Linked DNA regions of Homo sapiens: all the other regions are linked to region 5. Evidence: promoter capture Hi-C in 16 types of primary human blood cells and fetal thymus (Javierre and others, 2016). All regions are on one chromosome and are shown on one strand. Each heading gives the region's core, a stretch centred on a gene start or on the middle of the fragment in contact. The rest is flanking DNA. Distances are from core to core; before and after follow the strand shown.

Region 1 (4,652 bases), core at 1,575-4,074, 2.0 Mb before region 5:
TTGAACTCCTGGGATCAAGCGATCCTCCCGCCTTAGCCTCCCAAATTGCTGGGACTACAGGTGCGAGCCACCATACCTGGCCTATTTTTATTTCATACTCAGTAAAAGAGCACTCTCAGACTTTGACACATTTATTATGCATTGATCTTGTGAATGCATAAAAAGAGACATATAAGTAAAATTGGTTTAGGTATTTCAGAAACTTCATATTCGGAACTCAACTTTCATTTTATTTATTTTTTTAATTAATTAATTTATTTATTTATTTTGAGACGAAGTCTCACTCTGTTACCCAGGCTGGAGTGCAGTGGCACGGTCTCAGCTCACTGCAACCTCCGCCTCCCAAGTTCAAGTGATTCTCCTGCCTCAGCCTCCCCAGTAGCTGGGATTACAGGCATGTACCACCATGCCTGGCTAATTTTTGTGTTTTTTTTTAGTAGAGATGGAGTTTCGCCATGTTGGCCAGGCTGGTCTCAAACTCCTGACCTCAGGTGATCCGCCCACCTCGCGCTCCCAAAGTGCTGGGATTACAGGCGTGAGCCACCGCGCCAAGCCCAGAGCTCAACTTTTATGAATCACTTTTTGAATCAGTTGTCCATGGCTGTAGCTTTCCACCAAAAGTGTTGGTGATGCATCTAACTTTAAGAATGCTCCAGCTGGGCACAGTTACAGCTCATATCTGTAATCTCAGCACTTTGGGAGGTGAATGTGGGAGGATCCCTTGAAGCCAGGAGTTCGAGACCAGCCTGGGCAAAAAAGTGAGAACCCCCATCTCTACAAAAAGTAAAAAAATTAGCCAGGCATGGTGGCACACGCCTGTGGTCCCAGCCACTTTGGAGACTAAGGCAAGAAGATCGCTTGAGCTTGGGAGGTCAAGGCTGCAGTGAGCCGTGTTTGCGCCACTGAACTCCAGCCTGGGTGACAGAAGGAGACCCTGTCTCAAAACAAAAACAAAAACAAAAACAAAAAACAGAGAGGGAGAGAAAGGAAGGAAGAATGCTGCACTATTGTATGCAGGATTTTCTTCCAAGCAGCTGATCTTATTCTGCAAGTTTTGATGCTGGCACCTTCTTGATCTCACCTGAATATGTCAATTTTGTGTTTTCACGCAAAACATTCAGGACTTGTTTTCCTCCTTCAATGGTGTTATTGAATAAAAGCTGTAGGGGTTGTAACTGACTAATCAGGCTATCAAGAATAATATCGAAGTTATTTCATTTTTGGGGGGTGCAAGTAGGCTTAGTATTTAACTGTTCATATATGGGTTCCCAAAATCCATCAAGAATGAATGTACTTGGTAAGTAACTCAGGGCTCCCAGAAGACTACTAGTTCTTAGCCAGTCCCATCTCTTTCTTTTCTAAATGCTGGGGAAATCTCTTTTTGGTCCTAGGAAAATCTTCTCCAGGCAAATCTTCCCTCTTTCCCTAGGAAAATCTCTCTCCAAGTTTGAGTGACTTTTGTCTGTTAATTCCCTTCCTCCTAGGGTTATGGGTTTTATTAAACAATGCACTTATCTCAGTTGAAATGAGGACAACCTGCACAGCAACATCCACGTTGTAATACGTGGAGGTAATGACAACCAGGTCTGTACTGCCACCCGGTCAACGAGAGTTTATAAGATGCATCTTGATTTCACAGATGTTAAAATGTGGGGAAAAACATGGCTTAGCATCTGTGAAATACATAATGTCATGGTGCTTCGATCAATGTATAGTGGATTTTCTATAATTCCAAAGTTGGGATGTGGAAAAAACTTGCCTTAAAAGAAATCCGTACTTTTTGGTATGTTAAATCTAAGGGAGGTTATAAATCGAACAGTTGCAGGAGCCCAACTTTAAAGTGAGAGAAAGATGTAGTGGGGGAAGAAGGAGCTGAGAAATACAGAAAGAATAAAAACAATGGACGCAAAAGCAATAGGCAAGTTTTTTTGTTGTTGTTCTTTAAAGGGACAAAATCACAAGCTTACTAAAAAGGGTAACGACAATTACAGCTACAGCCAAAGAGCAAAGTAGCTCATTTTAAGATTATTTTTACATTAGACATAAGCTTTGCAACAGGGCCTCTCTCCATTTTAGTAAAATTGGTTTAGGTGTTTCAGAACCTTCTTATCGCAGATTATAATTTCATATTCAGTAGTGTGATTCATTTAGGTTTGTGATCTCCGTTACACTTAAACTGTTTTTGCTCACAACTATATTCGTAATGGGGTAGCGCAGTGAATATAATTGCATGACCTAATGTTGTTTGTTAATATTTGTAACCCTTTAATGTGCAGGATAGATCTTTGAATACCTAACTTCCTTAAGCCTCAGTTTTCTCAATTTGTCAAAGGGGGACAATAATAGGATTCATTCAGAGTTACTCTGAAATGAAATGCAATAATGTATAGAAACCTTAAACGGTGCCTAGCACAGAGCAAGCGCTCATTGAACAGCAGCTTTTGTGAGATGCACCTCACTATGAAATAGGCATGGAAACGGAAACGACTAGCTCTCTTAGCCCCGTTTTCTTTTCTACATTCATACGTTGCTTTGAATTGGCAAGCAGTTTTTATTTGGACCCTCAAACGCTAAAACCTTGGTCTCTACTTCGCGTCCCAACTGTGCTTATGAGTCTAGTCATTTTTGTTGGAACGCGATAGATTTCCCAAGCTCCGGAGTGGGGCCCTGACCAGGGAGGAAGTGTCCGCTTTAAGAGCTTCTGGAGGGGAGGAAGGGGCTCCTCCGCCCGGGTGGGAGAGTGAGTGAGTGGGTGGGCGGGCAGGGGGCGGTCCCGCCGCTCCTGCGTCAGAAGGGGTCTGGTTTTCGCACCTTCCCTGACGTCAAACCTCCATCAGGGTTGCAACGCCACGTTGCCTTGGATGCCTGCGTGAGTGGAGTCGCGACTCGGGGCCCGCGTCCTGAGAGACGCGCTCCCGCGCCGCTTCTCGCCTCCGGACCGCAGGGGCCGAAGTCGCCTATTTCTGGCTCCGCGGGCAGCGGGGCCGTGGCGCTCGGACGGTCTGGGATTCGGGCGCCGCCGCGGAACCGGAATAAGAAGGGAGAGCGCCCGGCTCGGTCCTCGGTCTCCACCGCGGCCCGGAAGGAATCCGGGCAGCCTCCGCGGAGGTGAGTGCCGCGGCGGGGGCGGGGCGCGGCCGGGGCGACGCCCGCGGGCGGGGCCTGCTCGCCGGGCGCCCGGGGCGCCTTCTTCCCGAGGGACGCCAGGACCGCTCGCTGGGCTCCCGCGGCCGCCTCGCAGGTCCTCGGCTTCCCCCCACCCCGCGTCCCTTTCTGCCCCTGCTGCGTGAGAGGTGTCGGCGGCTCCGGGCCGGGATCGAGGTGGCGGGGCGAGGGAAGGAGGTGGGGCGCAGGCTGCATTGCGCTTCTGTCCGGGGCCCTGGGTCAGAGGGGCCGGCGGACGAGGCCTCGGGTCCGGGCTTGGGGAGGGGGCGGTCTGCGGGGTCGGATTGAGGGCCGGGAACCCGCGGAGTCTTGCCCCTGGGCACCTGTGGGGCCGAGATCCCGAGCCACCTGTCCACACACCCCCTTCCCCCAGTGCCCTGCGTTGGGTCCAGCTGGCCCCAGACCTAGGCCTTTCCCAGCCTCGGGCGATTATAGTTTATTTGAAAACGTTTGATTTTTGTGTTAATGATTCTTTTACTACCGCCGTGCAACAGTTGTGTAAATGTGGTCGTGTTACGCCATCGTTTTTACTTGCTCCTAAGAAGGGCCTTACCAGCTCCTGCGATTATCTCACGCGATGATTCTTGGTAGCTCGTGAAAAAAATGCATAACAAGATACTGGTTCTCAAGGGACCAAAACCCCACCCCCACCTAAAGGAAATAGCTTGTTTTTGTTTTTCTTTTTTACAGCAATATGCTACGTGTGGGGAGGGGGAGGGACGATGGAGGCAGCCTGTAGCGATCTCATCCTCGAGAGAATCTGCTAACAATTTGGGGGGTATCTTTCCTTCCTTTTTAATTAATACACAAACATATATACGTGTGTTACATAAGGGGTGTTTATTTGCTTTTTTCACTTAATACGTGGAAGACCTTTTCTCTATCGTTTGAACCTAAAGCCTAGAAGGCAAGAAAGCAACTCGTTAGAGAGTTGATAAAGTATCACTGCAGTGGCCAGTGATTTGGATAGAAATAAGCTGAATTCAGGGTAAGAACTGGTTTCTATAAAATATGGTTTACTCTGCATAATAATTGGAGGCAGTGTTTTTTCAAACTGAGTTTTTTCAGCCGGTTCGTGAATGGTGAAATTAATTTAGTCATGACTAGCATTTAAAAAAAAATAAGATCGCATAAAAAAATCAGAATGCATTATATGTAATGAGAGTATTGTTTTGTGAAAAATATTTTAACTGTGCGCGTGTGCATTGTGAAATTTAGTGGGTCGTGACTAGCATTAAAAAAAGTAAGATCGCATAGAAAATATCAGACTGCATTACATGTAATGAGAGTATTGTTTTGTGAAAAATCTTTTAAGTGTGCGTATGTGCCTGTGCGTGTGTGCTCGGTTGTAATTAAAAATTTATTGGTTCCTGTGTGTCATGTTAAATAATCTTGAGAGTCGCTAATCCAAGGTACTGTCAGCACTCAAATGAGCAAGATGCAATTAAACTAGACATTAGTTTTATTTTTTCTTTGGAATAGTGGTG
Region 2 (4,151 bases), core at 1,010-3,509, 1.3 Mb after region 5:
ATATGATGTATTACATACTTAAAAACCTGGTAAGGGACAAATTAAAATCTGACATTTGCATTCAGCTTAAATTAGTTAAGTCAGTAAATGGTTCTTCAGCCTTATTTCCTGCCATCTCTCCTCCTTTTATTCTCCATGTTTTTTTCTGTTAGGAGTGAATGCTTAGACCTCAGTTACTCAGAGCCGTCTTTCCTACAGTGGGCGAGATGCCCTCACTGTGCACTCCCATAACACCCCGAATGCAATCTCTCATGGCATTTCGCTTTATTCTCCCTCCCTAATCAACATGTTTTAAAGATTAATTAGATTCCTAGTTGTTGAAGTCAGAGACCACACATGGCTTGTCATTACTGTCTTTCTGGAACTTAGTGCGTTGCTTGATATAATTTTAGTGTTTATGATGTTGCCCACATTCACTCTTACTCTCATTGCTGTTGTTGGATTGCTGTTACTATTCCAGCGCCCTGTGTGCCCTTCTCTATTGCTGTCCTGAGTATTCCCTTTCTAACCACCCTGTCTGAGCTCCTCAGCCTACGTCTTCTGCATGCTGGAGGCTGGACCCAAATGCTAGGCCCTTCTCTTGCCCATCTCTTCCAGCCTGCAGGAGCTGCTGCTTCTCCACTGGAGGCTCCTGTCGTAATTCAGCAGTCAAACTGCAATATTTACTTTTAAGGAGCTTGACAGGTAAAAAGAAATCTCTTCAAACTGCATGAGACCTATTCAGCTCCATTTGGCTTTTTATTCATTTATTTTTCTCTTGCCAGGTGGTCCGAATCAAAGATTGAAGTGCCCTAGATTTCCAAATTTGTCTTTTATATATTCAGTGTTAAGTGCTTAGTGTTGTTTATAATTTAAACATAACTTTTATAAAACTCTATTTTGAAAAGCGATGACTAACTATGGATATACATAAAAAGGATGTTAGCAGAAATGAAAAGTTCCGTTTAAGTCCTTCTTAAGGCTTGTCTCATTTAGACAAACAAAAGTTACATTGTTTGCCTGCTCACTGATGACTGGTACCATTTTTACTTCCCCCATTTGCTAAATACTCAAAATTTATTTGAGCTTTTTTTTTTATTAAATGCAGCGAAACAATTTAGTGCATCAAAAACTACATATTGTGGTATGAGTAAATGTTGTTTCACAGCTTATTTTAGCATTCTAGAAAGGTTGGCATGGAAACCTTGAGAAGGCATTTTAGATGCTCAGTGATGCATAAAGGCATTCATTTTGAAAGTCCTGTTTATCTTATTTATCCCAATTTAGAATCAATTTTAATAGTTATTTGTATCTAATTTTAGAAATATGATTTTTTTCAACAGGCAGAAGTAGTTTCTTTAGTCTTTTTCTTTTTTTTCTTTTTTTTATTTTTAACACACATAATCCAGAGTCAGGGAGAGTTTTCAACAATTAAGCAATATAATTCACTGGATAGAGATATACATTGGAATCATTTAGATTTGGTTTCAAATGCTGGCTGTTAGCTTTATGATAATTGCTATGTTAGTAGCCTCGAAACATGAGATTAAACATTAAGATAATAGCAATAAAAGGAAATAAATAAGGTAATACATGCAATACACTATACAATATAATATGTTACCAGGTAATATATGTAACACACTTGCATAAAGTATACATTCATCAACTTTCATTATTATATGTGTAAAATAATAGAGCTGGAAAAAGAAAAATTCAATAAATTACTTTGACTCAGGAACCTTTTCATCATTCATCCTCTTTTCAGTCTTTCTGTCTTGCCTGAACACTGGGAAATGTTGGTTCAATTGAATCACAAGACATTCACTAATTTATTTATGAATAAGCTTCTATGGATTACAAAGGGTGTGAAAAAAGTTAATATCAATTTTTTTTTCAATTCATTACCTGTTGTGTTTGTTATTTGGTTGTTGGTGGATCTCTCTTACCCCATGATAATTAGGGACCATCAGTGTCCCTTGGGATCCAGAGACCTGGTTTCAATTTTTGTCTCGTCTGCTAAGCAGCTGTGTTACCTTGAATAAGGAAATTCAAATCTTGAGACCTGGGTTTTCTTGTATATAAATTAAATGGAGATGAGCCGTATTATTTTTAATATACGTTCTAGCTTTTATCCATATTTTTCCAGTAGGATATTAGAAATTAAATAAAGACTATTCTGTATCTACCATCTCTGTAGACATGCTCAGAGGTTGTCAAACATTTTGGAAATGACTTTTGTTAAGTGAATTAGCTACTAATTTTTTTAAAACTTAGAGTCACAAAACAACTAGCAAATAAATGACAATTATTTCTAAATTTGTTTTTAATATAGAGATTAATTTTTCATATCTATATTTAGAAATGACGTCTTCTAATTTTATCTAGGCATAAAACAGCTAAAAAACTTGATATAGTCTATACCAAAATAACCCAATAATAAAAGTAAGTTGTAATGGGAGAATAACCCAAAGGAGCAATTTTCATGTGAAAAATTTTCCAGTGTATGAAGAATTGTTATTCACGGAAGGCTAATCTGTTGGCAATGTCTGTTGCTGAGCTGAAGAGGGTTCTGACAAAGCAAGCCCATTCCTGCATGGACTAAGCCTTCGAGTGGCCTTGAATTAGAAAGGAAGATAATTCTGCCTCTGGAAAAAGATATCATAGTGTAGTTATATAGAAATTACTCCTCAAAAGTTCCAACCCTTCTAACTAAAGCTTTACCAAAAGAATCCCAAAGAAGATAAACTTTCAAAATTCCGCTAAATAAAAACTCCATTGTCCTTTCAAAAAACATATACATTCTCAGGGAATTTTGTATAGTTCAAGATTATATAAATAACTTTGTCCAAACTCTTAGTTTCTACATTTCTTTAGAATTTCTCTTTTTCTCCTAAGAAAGTCTGGGGAAAAAACTCTTCACTATAGTAACTGATTAGTTCCATTTCCTGTCATATTTCTTTTCTTGTGGTTGCTGGTTTCTAGCCAATTCTATTTTTGCATTTATTTTCCCCCATTACATTCTGTTTCTTTTTTTTCTGGGTAGAAGAATTTTTGTGTTTTTCATTTTGTCAAAATGGAATTCTTCTCATGTTATGTCATGATTTTGATATTTTCAAGCTTAAAAAGCAACACAGAGGAGGTTTGTTTACATAATGAAGCATATCATGGGCTTTTTACAGAAGGTCTGATAATTCAGAAAGTATTTTCAACTAGCAGTGGATTAGCAATGCCTACTTTTTTCATAAGTCCTATTCTTTTGAGCATAGTCAGCTTGAGGCAGCTGTGGTTTAAAAGAGGAAACTAGGAGTCTAGGAAGTGACCTCATGAAAATGCAGAAAATTAAGAGTTTAAATAGTAATAATATACAAAAGCAAATAGCATATTTCACTAAATGTCTGAGTGCCTGAGAATTCTGGAAGTGGAGGGAAATCCAATTTAAAGAATATAAAATTAATATCCACATGTGAGTACATAGAGAGAAATACAGAAGGGGGAGGCTGAGAGACCTTTCTCAGGCTTTCGTTTTTTGGTTTGTTTCTTTATTTTTTTCTTTCTTTTTTTTTTAAAGAGCACTCTAGATTTATTTGGGTAAAATACGTGAGTATTTGCTTAGGATATATGCATTTATAAATTTAAAAGAGCAAGGATTCTCCCTGGGGCAAATCTTTCCTTGGATCATTGAAAACTAACCAAACAGTGTCTTCTAACTAGATTATCTTCATACTAGATCCTTGCAGAAGTATTAGCTGACCTAAGTCCTATTTTTTGCCACCCTGAAAGTGAAAGAAGGAAGTGCTGCTATAATAAGAACTGTAACTAAATCTAACGGCATCCCTGTTTTCTGATGATGGTCATGTGTTAGAAAAGTTTCATTTCATACCTGAGATATAAGATGTACAAATGTCTTTCCTAAGCTTGATCATCCATGGCAGATCTATGATGGAATATAGTGGGGAATCTGTAAAGCTGACTGACTACAAAACCAACAAATACTTTTTCTTCTCTCCCAGATTTACTTAATTAAACCAGGAGACTTGTGAATATATGAATAGGACAGAGCTCCAGGCAGATGGACTTTTATGAATTCTGCACCCTCACTATCTGGAGCTCTTTATACTAATCCTGGCATCTGGGAGAAAAGTGATTGCAAAGTTACACATTAGAATTGT
Region 3 (4,544 bases), core at 128-2,627, 1.6 Mb before region 5:
TGTAATTTAAGGAGTCCATTTCATTTCTGATACAGAATAATCACAAAAACAAGTATATACTGCTGGCTTTAGTTCCCCATGAACGATAACCAGCAGGATATCCACAAGGCCACCCCTGTTTTCTGTGCTTCCCTCCTCCTGGGCTGAGTCCTGCAGAGCTGCAATAGGAAGTTCTCTGTGACCAGGTGGTTAGCATGAAGACGCATGTCGATGGTGGCCTCAAATTCCACTTTGAAGTTGGTCTTCAGCATGCGGCAGGTAAACAGCCTGGAGAAGACCATGTATATAGGGACAGAGAGGCCCCTACAAATGTCCCCATGGGCATCTGAATATAAGGAAACTCTGTGGCATCATTGGCATAGCTTTTTGCACACCCACAGGTCTCCATGTGCACCAGTTGCAGCCCCATGCCTTTTCACCACCAGCTCTCCTGTAAGCAGCTGCACGATGACACAATTCATTGAGTTGGGGTGTTCTCGAATGAGAAATCTGGGGAGCAAGGCTCTCTCTTTGATATTCTGTAAGGTTGCAGGTATAATCTGTGAAGTCCACAGGACTTGGAGTCAACTTCCCCTCCTGAGGAGCAGAGTGGATGGTAAATTCACCGGCCTTTGTCAAGTCCTTGGTCAACAGAGACTGCCTCATGTCACAGCGTAGTGTATACTGAATGTCTGATAATAAGTCTCATACAGAACTTTGTTACCCCTCACATACAGAAGAAATGCGAAATAAATTTGTTTTGCCATAGGGAAATTTCCCTGGCTTCATCCTTTCTATGGCACTGTTGATAATCTGGATAGGTTTAATGGAATTATAAAAAGCTTCAAAACTGCCCACACTTTTGGCACTGAGCTGGGGGATTGCAATTCCTTCCATTGTCAAAGACACTACTTGATGTGGGACTGAATCCTTACAAGATACGACCACCACACTGGAGAGCATTTCTCCAGCATGAGAAACTATTTGCTCTTCCATCTTGATGTCCAGGGAGGTCCCTGTTTTGAATTCTCCACAGCAGCCAACACTTCTGACCTCACATCAAGTTTTTCTTATCAATTTTTCAGGGACCCTTTTAATAGCATCATTTATCTTATTACCGAAAATATTTTTCTAAGTCTAGGGCTTATTTTTAATTTTGTTTATACTATCATTTACCATAACAAAATGTTTAAAATTACATGCTATCATATATATCTGTCTATTCCTTCATGATTTTTTGTTTTTCTTTCTTCCTTAGGAGATGTTCTTTTTTCTAATATTTATTTTAAATTCTTTTTACATTTAAATTTCAATCAATTTGGAATTTGTTTTAGTATATGGGGCAAAATAAGGGCCAATTTTCCTTTCAGATGGATAGCCAATTATGCATTATTTTTCCATGAATTGAAATATCACCTTTATCATATATTAGGTTCCCATATATGCTTAGATCAATTATTATATTTTGTATTCTCATCCTTAGACCTACATGTTCATTCCCGTTTTATACTATATTATTTGGTCATAGTAGTTTTATAGTAAGTGTTAATATCTGTTGTATTAACATCTGTTCTTCAGATATTAATGTCTCTCACTATTCTTCAGTCTCATAATTTTACTATTCTTGTACAACTATTCTTCCAACATACCTTCAAAATTATTTTATCCTATTTAGAAAACCTTGTGATTCTATCTGGAAATGCATTAAATTTAAATACAGTAGATTATGCTCTATAAGGCTACCATGAACAGTGAATTAGGAAATACTGAACCCATTGTTCCTAGAGAAAATACAGGGTTAGGTTCCTGCAAGCCTCTGGCCACAATATTTTTGTCAACCAATCAATGCACAACCTTGTTTTATGTGTTTCTGTATAAAGATGCTTTTTAAATATATATTGTTGATTCATTAGCATTAAACTCATGGTCAACAGCAATATAAATCATACCTGAATGAAGCTTATTTAACGTGTGTATTTTTTCATTAAGGCACATCGTAGCCTTGCTGTGCTTGGGAACACTAGACAGCAATTCAGTACCGTGCTTTGGGGCCATTTGCCAAAGTAAAATCACCAACAAAAAGCACAAATATAAAAAAACAAGACACAAAATAGACACGAAAAGGACACTTGCTTATAGAATGAGGGCTGAAACAGTAACACAGAGCACTATCTGGTTTGACCTCAGCTGGGAACACGTGCATCAGGCAACTCAAAATTTTTTTGCCACTCTGCTTATGTCTGCAAATACTGAAAAAGCACCAGGAGTGTTAATTTTAGGGTTACAAATAAATTTTTGCAAGTAGGCAAATTTGTAAGTATTGAATCTGCAAATAACAAAAATCAGCTATTAATTTTTGGAGCAGGTACATTCTTATGCTAGTCTTCTCATTTAGAAATTTGGCATTTTTTCCTTTTGTTCAGGACTTGTTTTCTGTACTCAATAAAATATTATAATTTTATTTGGGTCTTGTATCTTTTTTGTTAAACTTTTTTGTAGTTTCTTTTAAAAATAATTTTTACATGTATTTTGAATGAGATTCTTACAAAATTTATAGCTGGTTATTGCTAGTAGAGTGAAGAATTTTGTATATGTTTATTTTATTTTTCCACCATCATTTGAAGCCTATTAATTCTAGTAATTTTTGCTAGTTACTTGGGGTTTCTTAGTAATTCACAATTAAATTAGCTACAAAGAGAAGTAATTCTGTCTGTTATTTTTCTGCAGTTTAATTTTCTTTTTAACTATGTTTTCAAGAACTTCCTGAAATATTTAATAAGAGTGATGATATTTGGCACCTAACTTTCAGTTCTGGTTTTGTAAATGAAAGTATTCTCAGTGCAAACTATCATGTGTAAAGGAAATAAAACCACATCAAAAGGGAGAAGGCTTATTACCATGCAGATAGTTTGCTGAATCATTGAACGAATTCAATATTATCACTTGGCCATAACCATTAATCTCTTAGAAGATGGTCAGTGCTAGTGTGCCAACATAATAGATATCAAAGATGTGTTTTTTACTATTATTACATTGTGATTTAGTAATATTCCACATTCTTTTCTCCTAGATGAGCCACAAATCAGAATTTCTGAACTCATCAAAGTCTAGGGTACACTGAAAATTATTACATAAGAATGTTATTTTGGGGAACAACTCTACTGTACTTGGGGTGGACAGAGTACAACTCATTGACGTTTAGAGAACCCTGGCTTTGTACAGCCCTTGTAATTCCCTTTCCTCATCTCACCTCCAGAAATACTACTCTGGGAGTAGAGAGGAGAGGTTATCCCAATTAACAGGTAAAGAAACTGAGTCCTAGAAAAGTGAAGTGACTTCCTCATGGCCACACACGTGGTTAGTTGAGGGCAAAGCTTCTGTCTCTGTTCCAGATTCAGTCAAACCTCATTATCTTGTTCCAAAGCTCCTTGATTCTTTCCAGCTACATTCTAAAAGAGCTCATGGTTCACCTTATCTATCCATCCATCAATCCCTCCATCATGCGCTATACATTTTATTATTCATTCATTCATTCAGTCAGTCAGTCATTCAACAAATATTTATTGAGGATTTATCATATTCAGACATTATTATAGATTCTGGCAATACAACTGGAAACAATGGACATTCCTCCCCTCATAGAGCTTACATTATAGAGAGGGGCACAGCAATAAATAATAAATAAGTAAGATATAGGATGTCAGAGGGTGATTAAGTGCTCTGAAGAAAAATAGAGCCAGCAAGGATAACTGGGAGTGCCAGAGTGAGGAAAGTGGTTGAATGGTAAATGGTTGTCAGGAAAGGCCTTCAGGATGAGCCTACATTTGAGCAAAGACCTCGGCAGGTCTTTGGGAAGTGAGCAGTCAAGCCACGCAGGGAGGTGATCTAGGGTTGCCAGTCCCCCGAGGTGGCAGCATGCCTGGTGTATTCATGGAGCAGCAAGGAGAGCTGTGAGGCTGAAGCAGAACAAGTCAGGGAGAGGTGCAGTGGAGGACCAAGAGCTGGTGGGGAACAGGGTTTATAGGGCCAGGCTAAAGGCCACTGGAAGGACTGTGACTTTCTTGGAAGAGGGAAGGCCACAAAAAAGTTTGTGCAGAGGAGTGACATGATCTGGCCAAAATCTGAAAAGGGCCTGTGGCACCAGGAGTGGACCATGGGGAGACCGAGGAGGAAGCAGGGGAACCAGTTAGGAGGTCATGTGACAATGTGGGAGAAAGGGACCGCTGAGGTGGTGGCAGTAGAAATAATGAGACTCACTCGGAGTTCAAATCTATTTTGAAGGTACAACCAACAAGATTTGCTGATGGATTGAATTGTTTGTATGACTTTATGAGCCAGGTGTTGGAGTTGCAAGAGGGAGTGAAATCAGATTCCTTGATGGAGCTTTTAGCCAAATGAGAAGGCAGACATTAATCAGATAGTTAGATAAATAAATGTGTAGTTACAAACTATGACAAATCCTTTAAAATAAAGTCTTAAGGGTGGGATAGATCTGGCTTAGTCATATGTGAGGCAGAATCAGGGCTGGAACACAGAGACTGTGGAGGAGGAATGAAGCTGGAGAG
Region 4 (4,097 bases), core at 580-3,079, 1.5 Mb before region 5:
CTGTATATGTTGGGAAACTGACTTTTCTTTGTTCCCCAGACAGTTCGTGGAAGTTATGGCTAGTGCTCTGACTGGTTATCTTCACACTATTTCTTCTGAAAACTTATTGGATGCAGTATATTCATTTTGCTTGATGAATTACTTTCCCCTGGCTCCTTTTAATCAGCTTCTGCAAAAAGACATCATCAGTGAGCTGCTGACATCAGGTAGGATGTTAGTGCAGAATTGGTCACCAATTGTGACCAATTCTGCACTACCACTAGCTACCATATGACTCTGAATGGGGTCTTAGTTGGAGCAGTGTTAGTTGAAATTTGCAGAGCAGGTGTTGCTGTGGAAAGGGCTGATAATGGTGAAGTCAAAGGATAGTGCTTCAAAGCAGCAAACCTACAGACCCTTCTTTAATGACAAGTCCTACATGTAGAAAAAAATAAGGAATGCATCATTATTCCTTTTATTTATACTCTATCCTTCTATACAAAGGCTAACTGTTCAGGCTGTTCTTTATGCTTTGATCAGAGCTGTTTTAATTCCTAATCCTTACTTATCACATTTGAAGCCAACCTAAGTCAATTTTTGCAGCTGTAAACACTTGGTCACTCCTGGCCTGTGATGAGGGAACACCTGTTAGATCAAGAAACCAAATAGCCACCAAATTAATTAGTTCATTTACTCTTGGAACCAAATTAACTGTTGACTTTTAGTCTTTAGTATTAAATAAGGCAAAGCAATATTCAGGTAGATGTACAAAATTTGACGATGTGTCTGAGAATAGAGTAGTTCAGAATTAAAACATAAATAAATAAATGTTATAAAATCCCAAAGTTGAGTTGTAGAGAGTCAGTCAATAATACCACGTGCTGGTTTTTCAGGCAGTGTAATAATGGAGAAACAGCCTTGAACCTTGGAAACCTGGATTCTAGTTCCAACTTTGCCTTAATTACGAGGCTTTTTAACTTTCCTGGGCATTTCCTTATCCATAAATTGAGGAGTTTAGACTAAATGACCTCTAAAGATATTTGAAGCCTTAAAACATTATCAAGTGCAGGGCTTTGATTTAGACCCTGTGGAAACCAGGGAGACAAAGAGAGAGTCCTTGTGATAAGAAAGAGATAATTAGAAATACAAGTGCATTTATGTATATATTTATTATTTTATAACTATTACTAAATATATACTAATATAGTTTTTTAATGTTGCATTTATTTCTTCTTAATGATATACTCTCTTTTTCATCTTTTAGATGACATGAAGAATGCTTACAAGCTGCATACTTTGGATACTTGTCTAAAACTTGATGATACTGTCTATCTGAGGGACATAGCCTTGTCACTCCCACAGCTGCCGCGGGAGCTGCCATCGTCACATACAAATGCAAAGGTGGCAGAGGTGCTGAGCAGCCTTCTGGGAGGTGAAGGACACTTCTCAAAGGATGTGCACTTGCCACACAATTATCATATTGGTATGGGACATTATATGATTTCCTTTCATTTTATTGTATTTATTTTCCTTTTTTTCTGACCAAAAAAATAGGTATTTGTGGCAGCAGTTTAGTGTAGTGCAGCATTGCCTCTGGAACTGGCCTGATTCTTGCCTCATAAAATTCTTGTGACCAATAAATGAAATTCTACACATTTTTATGTGTCTAAAATCCCAAGACTAGTATCTGACACATGGTTAGCTCTCAATATATTTTAGCTACTGCTATTATCATTATTGGTAGTACTATTAAACATTTTGAAACAGAAAATCACTTGGGGCTGGTCACGGTGGCACACGCCTGTAATCCTAGCATGTGGAGAGGCCGAGGCAGGTGGATCACTGGAGCTCAGGAGTTCAAGACCAGCCTGACCAAATGGTAAAATCCTGTCTCTACCAAAAAAATACAAAACTTAGATGGGCGTGATGGCATGCCCCTGTAGTCCCAGCTACTCAACAGGGTGGGGTAAAAGGATTGCTTGAACCTGGGAAGTTGCTGCAGTGAGCTGAGATCACACTACTGCACTCCAGCCTGGATGACAGAGCGAGACCACATCTCAAAAAAAAAAAAAAAAAGGAAAAGAAAAGAAAAAGAAAGTCACTTGGAGGAATGTTTGAAAAATTAATATCAATTCTTTCCTTTCAGATTTTGAAATCAGAATGGACACTAACAGGAATCAAGTGCTACCACTTTCTGATGTGGATACAACTTCTGCTACAGATATTCAAAGGTTGCTTACATATATTTCATTTGCTGGGCTTTCTGAATTAAAATCCTAATTCTAAAAGACTTCATATTAAATAGCAGTAGTAAATCTAAGACTTGATGTTTGTATGGAGCCTGCAGCACACCAAGAGACTTGTCATCCATCAATGTACTCCTTAGAAAGTGTAAATGTGGACGTTATGGTTGAATACAATGGACTACAGTATTGGTCATTTAATGAGACAGACATTTTTTTAAAATTAGGTTTTGAAGCTATAGTTCAATAAAACAATATTAATATAATTGAAACTATCAATGCAGTGTAGACTTTGGACAAGATAATATAATAGTGATCATAAAGAATAAAGACTCGAGGCTTCTACAAAAATCAAATACCCAATAAATATTTTGCTCTACCACCAAGACTTTTCCAGAGGTAGAGAAACCGTAGTTTTTTAATTAAACTGTATTTGTATGGGTTAGAGCACATTGAAGCTAATCCTAAGTTGTTTCTTTGGCTCACACATTACAAATAGAGTGTCTCTGGGGAGAAATATGATGCTATACCATGAGAGAACATCCTGCCTCTTCAGTAGATGCATAAGATCATGCCATCATTGCACACACCCGTGGGTCAGTTACCCTTTATGTAAAAGCTCTGCTACATGGATCCTGACCCCAAGGAACTTGTATCTTCTGTTAACTCCACTGGACACACACACACACATAAATATGATAGAAACATACAAAAAAATCTGTAGGGATCCAAGCTCTTATCTGCCCATCCCTCTTCATTCACACACAGTTCTGTGACTTTCACCTCTTTCTGAATGCATCTAGCTTATTTCTTGGCCATCTTTTCAACCGCTGTCTTTCCTATTAGTGCTACCCATCTCCCCTCAGAAGAGGCTTTCTCTCTGACCTCATTCCAAGATCAGTTTTCTTTTTCGGGTACTCCGCTATTCTGGCATAATAAAATAACAGTTGTTCTCAGCATAAAGTCATGAGAAGTGAAGAATGTGAGCATTCCTTTAAAAACATAAAATTTGTCTTATAACAGCCAGAGTATAGGTGAAGGCAGTAAGGATATAAATGTCTTTTTTTTTTCTTTTTTTCTCCCAGTAAACTTAGTATTTCCAAAGTGCCAGGAACAATGAAAAAACAAATTACACCTTCCACATTTTCGTTATATTTACAGATTTTATTTTAACAGTCTTGCCTTTCTCTTGGTGTTTTCTTTCTTGTATTTAAACTCCTATTTCTGTTTTTTAAATGCTGCTTTCTCTGGGAGATGATATGTGTAAGAAGAGCATTTACTATTTGGTATTATTTACACCGTTACTACTACTGGTAGAATAAATAATTATACTCAGATCAGAAATCAGCACTACACAGAAAACCCTTAAAATTGGTGCTTTCATGTCTGAAAATTTTCCTCTTCAAAAATGTAGCCATCCTTAAAGGGAACTGAGAGGTAACTGTGTATAATGTTGTATATTTTTGATTTATAAAGTAGCCTTGTATAGTGGAATATCTGCAGAGGCCAAGTAAAAGAAGTGAAGGACTAAGACAGGAATATCAAGGATTGTGGTCGGTGGAGAGCTCAACTTGGAAATCTCCAGAGAACAAGAATGCAGCAAGACTAAATAGTAATATCAATAACTGTTCTTGTTTTGTTTATTTTTGTTTTCAGAGTAGCTGTGCTATGTGTTTCCAGATCTGCTTATTGTTTGGGTTCAAGCCACCCCAGAGGATTCCTTGCTATGAAAATGCGGCATTTGAATGCAATGGGTTTTCATGTGATCTTGGTGAGAAAAAAATGCAAATGAAATATTCTTTAATTACTGATGTACATTCTAACAGCTGCCAGGAATCTTGTGGTTGAGACTGGTTACTAGGACTAGAGGAATTG
Region 5 (4,651 bases), core at 2,152-4,651:
GAACAATTCATGCAATTCAATTTATGTGTAGTTGAATAAAAAGCTAGTAACAGCAATTCTATTTACCATTAGAATTGAGTATCTTCTCTGAACAAAGTATTGTGTTATGTTTCACACGCGGTTTCTGAGCTAGCCCTCATAACAATCCAAAAAAATGGCCATCATTTCCCCATTTTACTTTGTTAAAAAAAAAAGAGCTTTCCCAAGGCCACCTAGCTAGAGCGTGGCAGAGCCTGACCCTATAACGTGCCCTTCATAATGCAATCATTATTCTCAACTACTGGTTTGTCTTAAGAAATGAGATTATTTCCACAATCTCATGTTTATTGAACACTTCAGTCCAACTCATCATTTTACTGGGCTCTCAAGATGTCCAGAATGGTGAGTGCTAGCATTTCTCCTCCTTTAAGAGGCTGTTTTTGTTATTTAATAAAAATAACTAGCCATGAGGAGATTCAGCTGGTTCCTGTGACCCATATTCAGGGAAACTTTAAGTCTAAAAGCGAGACGAAGAATTCCTGGTGGAACTGTTTTCCTAGAGATAACACAGACATTGGAGATGTGGGGCTAAATACAACAAAGTGATTTCTCAATTAGAAGAATCTCTATACAGTAGGGCCACTGCCCAGGACCCAAGCATGTCCCTGTCATCTTCTTCTGGCTGTTCACAGGCAAGGGTAAGCTGCTAGTGAGTGGGATAGGACAAACTGTGCATTGTCCTAGGAAGACAGCACTTTAAGGATAGGGTGTGGGGGTAGCATATACAAATCAATCTGATTCTCAGAAAGTGCAAGGTTGGACGCTTTGGAAGAAATGAAACTGTCCCAGCTTGTCCCTAGAGGCAGAAGAAGCTCTGAGCCTGCTAAAAGTTATCTATTCCTTCTAATGATGCTCTAATCGAAACTCTTTTTTAATCCAACAACACAGCTGCAAATTGCTTTTATTCTCTTAAGGACTAAAAAAGTCAAGAGAATTGACTTTAAAGAATTATTAGATAAGAAGCCTAAAATAGTCTTTCTTGAAAAATTGAGCTAAAGTAATTTGGTCTTTAAATAAAAATGTAATGATTAGTAGACAGTAAGCGTCTGTTTCTTGACAAGCCTGGATGTATTTCCAATCCCCAGGCCCATTTTCACTTCCCAAATTCGCAATTCTAGAATTCTTCTTACTAGTGTTTAGGAGATTCCTTTGGGGGAACCTTCTGGAACTGAACTAGACTAAAAGAAATGAACAGAATGGTGTGGATGAGTCAATTACTTCCCATTTGTAATGTCAAGTATAATTTGTAGTACAGCTGAAAGCATATGATTCAGTTCATGTTTGATTCCACTGTCACACCTATCCTTGTTTTAAAACAAAGCAAAAAAGGAGGCAGTGAACTTATCTGGTTCCTGATAATACACTTCCATGGCCATGTCCCTATATAGTATGATGCAACAGTCATGACATGGCAATTTATTCTTGATGGCAAATACAGTTAATAGAGGTCAAATATTGTACCTAAAATGTGAAGACTGATATCTTTTTAGTTCACTATTTCCTTCTCAGTTAAAGCAACTGTACTCTCTGCAGTAATCTTTCTTTATCTCATAATGCATACTTCAGACGCTTCAGGTTTTCCTCACATTACTTAGCCATGAAATTTTTACCATCTTTTAACTAAAACAGTGAAGCTTTATTGTTACTACCATGTGGAACATAATTGTATTTCTTCTGGATCTGATTTCCATGGGATGGGCTTGAGGCCCCACTGGACTGACTTCTCCACCTTTGTTGCCCCTCAGATTTTGTCTCCAACCCAATCCCAACTTCAGAAGGAAGGGCTGTTCCAAGACCAGCAGGCACCAGCTCATATGAAGTAGCTGAATCCTATCTCCTAACATAATTGTGCAATTCCAGAAAATAAACCTGGAATAACAATACAGAGTAGTTTAATGAAAAAAAAGAGCCATTTAATATTATTTTCATCAACCTCAAGTTTTTGGCCAGATTGTTTTTTGCCGAGTTCATGAACTACAATAATTTCTGGGCAAAAAGGATCTCTTGCAGATAAGACACTGTATTAAAAGAAACAAGGAAGCTGTTGGAATTCGTTGTTGGAAATATTCCTCACTCATTCCCTTGCAGTGCCTCGGCCTGCCCCCAAGACCAGTTAAACACTGTACTGCCACATCAAAGAAAGTACAGAAGAAGGGGGAAAATTTGCTAATTCTCACCTTGACAGTGAATAGATTTCTTATCACCCCAGTTCCTCCCAGTCTTGCAGACTCAACTGAATGTAGTTTATCGCCTAAAACAAAACAAGGAATAAAAGTGTTAACATACAGAACACTCACAGGAGAATTTAGCTGTTTTTAGTACCTGCCAGACAGCCCAGTTTATCCGGTTTAAAGTACAGTGCTGAGTGTACTCGGTGGGACAAAGGCCAATTTTAGGCCCGCAGGCACTTTCCAAATAAAGGTCATGGGAGCACAATTTATCTCTGCGTGTGCGAGGGCGTGCCCCCGCTTCGCCGCCCGTTAGCAGGTCTTGGGGTTTGCATGTCCTTGCTCTTGGCCTGCACCCGTCCTTATGGCCGTTGTGCAAGAGGGCTGCAATCAAGGCTGGATCGGTACCTCCTTCCAGGTCTCCACGCCCGCCCCTCCCCTCCCCTCCCCTCGCTGGTGCTGGGACCTTTTAAACTCCAGGCACCCGGAACTGGCGGGGGTGTTTCCCCCAGCCCCCTCTCGCCCCGTGTGGCCTAGCGACCCCTCTGAAGGCCGCTGGAGCTCCGCCCCTCCACGCCCCCTGGCGGACGCGAGGGATCGGCTTCAAGGCTATTCCTCGCCGCCTGAGTTGCCTGCAGACGCCCGTCTGCGGCTTACAGCCTTCTTTGCATCCAGCCCCCAGCTGCTGCACGTTTTCTTCCTCCTACACTCCAGGCTTAGTCTTCTACATGCATTCTTGCAACTTCCACCCCTCGATTTTCCAACCCAAGTGCAGACCTGATTTTCCCCTTGTCGTTGCATCCAACTTCCTCACCGCCCAGTTTCTCCCTCCCAGGCCCAAAAGCAGACCTTCTGCATATCCAAGCATCCAGCATCCCCTCCTTCCCTTTTCTTTTCCCATTCTCAATACCTGGATTTGTTCCCTTCTTTGCACGCAGGCCTTGACTCCCTCCACACCCAAGATCTGCGCTTTTTTCCTTTACCCCATTCCTGCCTTCTGCGGAATTAGAGCCACCCCTCCACAGCCAGGGACCGGGGCCGCCCCTTGGAGCCTGAGGTTACCTGCCGGGATGATATGCTGGCGAAGAGTTGGGGCGCCACAGCCGCTCACAAGCTCAGACTCACAACCACAGCCTGGCAATCCCAAACCGGACTCCCAGTGCCTCCGCTTCTGAAGTAGACTCTGCAGAAACCCGGGACCACAGGGTAGGTCCGAGCTTTTCCTCTTCCCGGCTTTGTCCCCTCCCAGGCCCCGCCTCCTCAGCCCACCTCCCCCAGCCCCGCCCCCGACACGCCTCCAATCGCCACACGCCAATTCCCGTGGGATGGGCGGAGTCAGCGAGAGGGGCGTGGCCACAGTCAAAGATGGAGAATCCATGGTGCCACTTTCCCGGTGATCCCGGTGGGGGAAGGGGTTGCCGCCCGGCAGAGATTCAGTCCCGAATCCCGACAGCGAAGAGACTTGTATGCCACCTGCAGGCCGGGGAGCGGGGCGCGCTGGGGCTGCACCACCCCGAACTTTGTAACAATCTAGAGCACCACAGAGTGTTTCCAGGTCGGCACAAAAGCGAACGGGACAGGGCGCCCTGGGCGGCGGCAGCTTGGCCGGCCCGCTGCCTAGCGCGCCCCCGAGGGGCGGTAATGGAACGTACCTTTGGCTGAAGAAAGAGTGCTCCCGGCCAGCGCGGGGTCGCCTAGGGGGTTCCGCGCTGCCTAATGCAAAGGATGGAAAAGTTACAGAAGCAGGTCCTGACACCACCTATGTCTAGGTCTTTAGAAACTCCATTGATTGTTTGCATTAGAAGATAATGAATGGGATTCTTATTATTTTCTTTTTTAAGACAGGGCCTTGCTCTGTTGCCCTGGCTGGAGTGCAGTGGAGCGATCACCGCTCACTGCAGCCTTGACTTCCTGGGCTCAAGAGATCCTCCCACCTCAGCCTTCCGAGTAGCTGGGATTACAGGTGCACACAATCACACTCAACTAATTTTTCTTTCTTTCTTTTCTTTTCTTTTTCCTTTGGTAGAGATGGGTTTCAGCAGCCCAGGCTGGTCTCGAACTCCTGGACTCAAGTGATTGGCCCTCCTCGGCCTCCCAAAGTCCTGGGATTACAAGCGTGAGCCACCATGCTCAGTTGGCGGGGGATTATCTGTGATCCAATGAAGTTGGACTAGAGATGTGAAGCCTTAGAAAACGGTGGATTGAAAAAAGAATTTTAGTCTCCTCCAGAGATTATATTTTGTGTGTTCATTGCTCTCAAAAACATGAAAATAAAGAGTATTTTATATTGTGATTTGTAGGACAATAGCATGCTTGTATATTGCTGCCCAGAATTTAATGCTCCAATATTTATTTATTTATTTATTTATTTATGAGACAGAGTCTTGCCCTGACAGGCTGGTGCAGTCTCGGCTCACTGCAACTTCCGCCTCCTGGGTTCAAGT
Region 6 (4,791 bases), core at 398-2,897, 1.5 Mb before region 5:
GCGGGGTAGGAGAGAATTGATATGTATATTTAATTCAGAATAGTTATTCGGGGACTATGTGAGGGTTGACGTTGACCCAGCTTGAAAAGGGATTTATAAAATTGATATAAATGATCTAATGTCATAGATTAGTGAGAGTAAAACTTAACTCCCTTTGACATTGACTATGCATAGGATATGTTACTATAATCTCCTGACATAATTTGTTCTTTAGTAAAGACAGCACAATAATGTGAGAGAAAATAGCACTATTAATAGATTGGGTCTCGATCTTTAACTACTTACACTCTCTCAAGCAGGTAGATCATTTCTCTGGGCTTCATAATCCTTGCCTGTAAGAAGGGGCTGGACCAAATGAAATTTTAAGATTTTTCTTCTGCTTTGAAGATTCTATGATTTTAATATTTATTGTGTTTGATAACAGAATACTAGTTGATCAGCAAGTTTGGAAAATAGAAGATGTCTTCACATTACAAGTTGTGATGAAGTGTATTGGAAAAGATGCACCGATTGCTCTTAAGAGGAAACTGGAGGTAAACACATGAATTTTCTCTAGTGGATGAGATTTGAAAAAATCTTTCTTATAACCTGCTATCACTGCCTGAAGTCAATTTTCTAGGAGGACATTGCTGGGCTTTTAGGTTTAGCTTCACTAAAGTGAATGAATAGAAGTACCCTTATATTTATTTATCTGTATATATATACATGTATATTTATTTATCTGTCTGGGTCATATTACCCAAACTTCATCCTTTTTGTTTAAAAATAAATGTTTAGGCCAGACATGGTGGCTCACACCTGTAATCCCAGCACTTTGGGATGTCAAGGGCAGGGAGATCTCTTGATCCCAGGAGTTTGAGACCAGCCTGGGTGACTGAGCAAGACCCTGTCTCTGCAAAAAAAAAAAAAAAAAAAAAAAAAATCAAAGAATTAGCCAGGCGTGGTGGTACATGCCTGTAGGTGGTGCATGCCTGTAATCCCAGCTACATGGGCGGCTGAGGCAGGAGGATCACTTGAGCCTGGGAGGTTGAGGCTCCAACCTGGGTGACAGCACAAGACCCTGTCTCAATAAAAATAAAAGTTTAATTTATTTTGTCACAGATAGTAAATTAAATTAAAATTTGTTTTTTCTTTAGATGAAAGCCTTGAGGGAATTAGACAGATTTTCTGTTTTGAATAGCCAACACATGTTTGAAGTACTAGCTGCCATGAATCACCGATCTCTTATACTCCTGGATGAATGCAGTAAGGTGGTCCTAGGTAAGAGGAATTTTTCTTTCATCATTTGCAATACCTGAGCTTCTGTTTTAGACTATTTTTGTTTTGTTTTAAAAACTTTGCTTTTATATGAAAAAAGAATAAAGCATGTTGTATTCAAAACAATCAGGTAATTTTTGTTTGTTTATTTAACTCATTCTTCAAGATAATATCCATGGGTGTCCTTTAAGAATAATGATCAACATATTGCAGTCCTGCAAAGACCTCCAGTACCATAATTTGGATCTCTTCAAGGGACTTGCAGATTATGTGGCTGCAACTTTCGACATCTGGAAGTTCAGAAAAGTGAGTACATTAACAATTTAGAATAAGCCTCACAAACTTTTAAAACACTAATTCATGTAGCATTTTAAGTATTTCTCTTTCACCTTTATAGTAGTTAAGATACCAAAATATTCCAATGCTGAATTGACTTTTGAAAAATTAGCTCCTTATTATTCCTGTCTGGGGGCTACTTGCTAATATGAATAGTCCCCAACTTAGGATGGCTTGACTTAATATTTTTTGACTGTTTGATGTTGCAAAAGCAATACGCATTCAGTAGAAACCATACTTTGAATTTTGAATTTTGTTGTTTTGCTGGGTTAGTGATATGTTGTATGATGCTCTCTTTTCATGCTGAGCAGTGGCAGCAAGTCGCAGCTCCCAATCAGCTGTGCAATCATGAGGGTAAACAATGCATATTGTATTCAATAAATTACTTGAGATATTCAACACTTTTATTATAATATAGGCTTTTTGTTAACTCATTTTGCCCAACTATAGGTGAATGTAAGTGTTCTAAGCGTGTTTAAAGTAGGCTAGGCTAAGCTATGATGTTCAGTAAGTTGGATGTATTAAATGCATTTTGACTTAAAATATTTTCAATTTATGGTGAGTTTGTTGGGATATACCCCACCGTAAGTCAAGGACAATCTGTATACTATTCTATCCTTTGGTCATCTTTCTATTTGAAACAAAAATTTGCTCTTCTTTTTCGTTTTAAAAGGGTTGTATGGGCTGGGCGCGGTGGCTCACGCCTGTAATCCCAGCACTTTGGGAGGCCAAGGTGGGTGGATCACCTGAGGTCAGGAGTTCAAGACCAGCCTGGCCAACATGGTGAAACCCCATCTCTACTAAAAATACAAAAAGTAGCCGGGCATGGTGACGTGTCCCTGTAATCCCAGCTACTAGGGGGGCTGAGGCAGGAGGACCACTTGAACCTGGGAGGTGGAGGTTGCAGTAAGCTGAGATTGTGCCACTGTACTCCAGCCTGGGCAATAAAGATCAAAACTCTGTCTCAAAAAAAAAAAAAAAAAAAAAGGGTTGTATGGTACTTTTGTTAGATATTTAGCATGATTTCCGTGTTTATACTTTGTTCTTGTTAGATTTCAAATAATAAAGATGGGTGATGTGACAGGCTTGGGGTTTTTGAAGAATAAAATGTCACTACTTAATGGTCATGTCCATTGTTTTATCCAGAGTAAAAGCCTTTAAAATCAGGAGCTGTGTTAAGAATATAAACATTTAATGAAGCACCTGGTAAAAACTTCTTTTTGCAATGAAATAGGTGATAACTGTTAGATCTCTAGGTTCAGTTTATTTTGGAGAGTAAGGTAAATATTGAGTTTACTGTGGAAATTGGTTATAGAAAGAGAAGTAATAATCCTAAGTAAGAAAGATTGAGAAGGAAATTGGAGGTGAACTTGAAAGTTTATTTTAATCATAATGTTTCAGTTCCATTTTCACTTATAGGTATGAATATTAAATATAGAAATTTTGGGGTTATGTCTTACATGTTAGAATCTAGGAAGTATTTAAGTTTGGGAATGCGAGAAGTTCAAGATTGAGTTGGTCATTTTGAAAACCTTCAGAAAAGGCATATTTAAAAGTAATTTTCAGATATGTTGTATGAAAAGCATGTAGGAAGAGATTTATTTTTAAATCAGATGGAAACGTAGAAATCATTGTATGCCCTGGTTCTCAGCTTAAAAAAGATTGCTTATTAACTTGATACCCAATTCAAGAATTAATAGAACAGATTTTGTGAGAGAAAGATGATTGTTCCTTTTCATGGAAATATTCTGTTTCAGGATATATTCTGTTGATCAGGACAGTTGAATTGCTGCTTAGATTTTTTGAGATCTAAAAAATTACTATTAGCATACTGTAATTATTATAGAGTTTTCCCTCAATTTTCTCTTTTTAAGGTTCTTTTTATCCTCATTTTATTTGAAAACCTTGGCTTTCGACCTGTTGGTTTAATGGACCTGTTTATGAAGAGAATAGTAGAGGATCCTGAATCCCTAAACATGAAAAACATTCTATCTATTCTTCATACTTACTCTTCTCTCAATCATGTCTACAAATGCCAGAACAAAGAGTATGTACTTGTTTTTTTTTACCTTTTTTATTGCCATATAACTTACAAAAAAGGTTATAAATCATAAGCTTAATGAATTATTACAAGTGAACACACCCATAGTCATCATCCATGCCAATAAATAAAACATAGTGTTCCTTACTCATTTATAAGGTTAAACAAAATTTTGTTTTATATTTGCTGCCCTTTGTCTTGTTTGTTTCTTTGTTCTTTATAATGTATTAGTTAATTCATTATAGGAGTTTGATTTCAAACCCTCCCAGCTTATCCTCGTAGCTCCTAAGTTCATAGTTTATTTTAACTGTATTAAAAAATGGAGAAATCTGTCTTTTAAAAAATTTGACTTTTTTTATTATGGTAAGAACATTTAGTAAATTTTAAAGTGTGCAGTACAATATTGCTGACTTTATTATTAATGATATAGTTAACAATATTGTACAGTGGATCTCTAGGACTTAATCATCTTGCATAACTGAAACTTTATACCTGTTGAATAGCAACTCCCCTATTTCCCCCTTTCCTCACCCCTGACAATCAACATTGTAATCTCTGTTTCTATGACTGACCTTTTTAGATACTTTATATAAGTGGAGTCATGCGGTATTTGTCCTTCTATGACTAGCTTATTTCAGTTAGCATAATGCCCTTCAAGTTGATCCACATTGTAGCATGTGATGAGATTTCCTTCTAAGGCTGAATAATATTCCATTATATGTATATATCACATTTTCTTTATCCATTCATCTGCTGATGGATGTTTAGGTTGTTTCCCTATCTTGGCTATTGCAAACAATGCTGCACTTAACATGGGAGTGCAGATGTCTCTTTGAGATTCTCATTTCAATTCTTATGAATTGAAATATATCCACAAGTGAGATCCCTGGATCATACAGGGATTCTGCTTTTACTAAGGGTTCTACTTTTACCAAATGCCTTTTTTTTTTTTAGCATCAGTTGAAATGATCATATGGTTTTTATCCTTTATTCTGTTGATATGATGTATCATATTGATTGATTTGCATATGTTGAACCATCCTGGCATCCCAGGGATAAATCCTGCTTGGTCATAATGAATAATCTTTCTAATGTATTGTTGAATTTGGTTTGCTAGTATTTTTTTTGAGGATTTTTGCATCAATCTTCATCAGAGA

Evidence for each region. The method cuts DNA at HindIII sites, captures the fragments that hold promoters and counts their contacts. A CHiCAGO score of 5 or more calls a contact.
Region 1: the fragment with the promoter of ZDBF2 here is called in contact with the fragment with the promoter of IDH1 in region 5 in 2 of 17 cell types (total B cells and non-activated CD4 T cells); the score reaches 5.8 in total B cells.
Region 2: a contact is called between a fragment that was not itself captured here and the fragment with the promoter of IDH1 in region 5, in 1 of 17 cell types (M0 macrophages). The highest score is 7.3, in M0 macrophages.
Region 3: a contact is called between a fragment that was not itself captured here and the fragment with the promoter of IDH1 in region 5, in 1 of 17 cell types (total B cells). The highest score is 5.6, in total B cells.
Region 4: a fragment that was not itself captured here is called in contact with the fragment with the promoter of IDH1 in region 5 in 3 of 17 cell types (naive CD8 T cells, non-activated CD4 T cells and total CD4 T cells); the score reaches 8.5 in naive CD8 T cells.
Region 6: a fragment that was not itself captured here is called in contact with the fragment with the promoter of IDH1 in region 5 in 4 of 17 cell types (total CD8 T cells, naive CD8 T cells, total CD4 T cells and 1 more); the score reaches 9.1 in total CD8 T cells.

Annotation. Positions count from the first base shown.
Region 1 is chr2:206,271,839-206,276,490 of GRCh38, forward strand. ZDBF2 (zinc finger DBF-type containing 2) reads left to right here and starts at 2,825. Exons shown (of 5, transcript NM_020923.3): 1 at 2,825-3,108. RefSeq lists silencers at 2,720-2,779, 3,060-3,519 and an enhancer at 3,183-3,682. The HindIII fragment of the contact is 6,855 bases long and covers 2,046-4,652 here.
Region 2 is chr2:209,522,973-209,527,123 of GRCh38, forward strand. All of the region lies in intron 2 of MAP2 (microtubule associated protein 2), which reads left to right. Among named protein-coding and RNA genes, the nearest start is that of MAP2, 100 kb to the left of the region's middle. The HindIII fragment of the contact is 871 bases long and covers 1,825-2,695 here.
Region 3 is chr2:206,686,368-206,690,911 of GRCh38, forward strand. The region is part of intron 9 of DYTN (dystrotelin); the gene reads right to left. It also overlaps the pseudogene VPS26CP1. Among named protein-coding and RNA genes, the nearest start is that of DYTN, 30 kb to the right of the region's middle. The HindIII fragment of the contact is 1,117 bases long and covers 820-1,936 here.
Region 4 is chr2:206,786,694-206,790,790 of GRCh38, forward strand. FASTKD2 (FAST kinase domains 2) reads left to right here. Exons shown (of 12, transcript NM_001136193.2): 8 at 40-206; 9 at 1,244-1,462; 10 at 2,126-2,210; 11 at 3,879-3,993. Among named protein-coding and RNA genes, the nearest start is that of MIR3130-1, 5.4 kb to the left of the region's middle. The HindIII fragment of the contact is 5,023 bases long and covers 1-4,097 here.
Region 5 is chr2:208,251,670-208,256,320 of GRCh38, forward strand. IDH1 (isocitrate dehydrogenase (NADP(+)) 1) reads right to left here and starts at 3,402. Exons shown (of 10, transcript NM_005896.4): 1 at 3,270-3,402; 2 at 2,217-2,290. IDH1-AS1 (IDH1 antisense RNA 1) reads left to right here and starts at 3,564. Exons shown (of 2, transcript NR_046452.1): 1 at 3,564-3,762; 2 at 4,234-4,525. RefSeq lists a silencer at 2,547-2,656 and an enhancer at 3,110-3,636. The HindIII fragment of the contact is 4,060 bases long and covers 1,672-4,651 here.
Region 6 is chr2:206,770,758-206,775,548 of GRCh38, forward strand. FASTKD2 (FAST kinase domains 2) reads left to right here. Exons shown (of 12, transcript NM_001136193.2): 4 at 425-533; 5 at 1,137-1,260; 6 at 1,424-1,563; 7 at 3,468-3,640. Among named protein-coding and RNA genes, the nearest start is that of FASTKD2, 7.5 kb to the left of the region's middle. RefSeq lists an enhancer at 1-141. The HindIII fragment of the contact is 4,118 bases long and covers 1-3,706 here.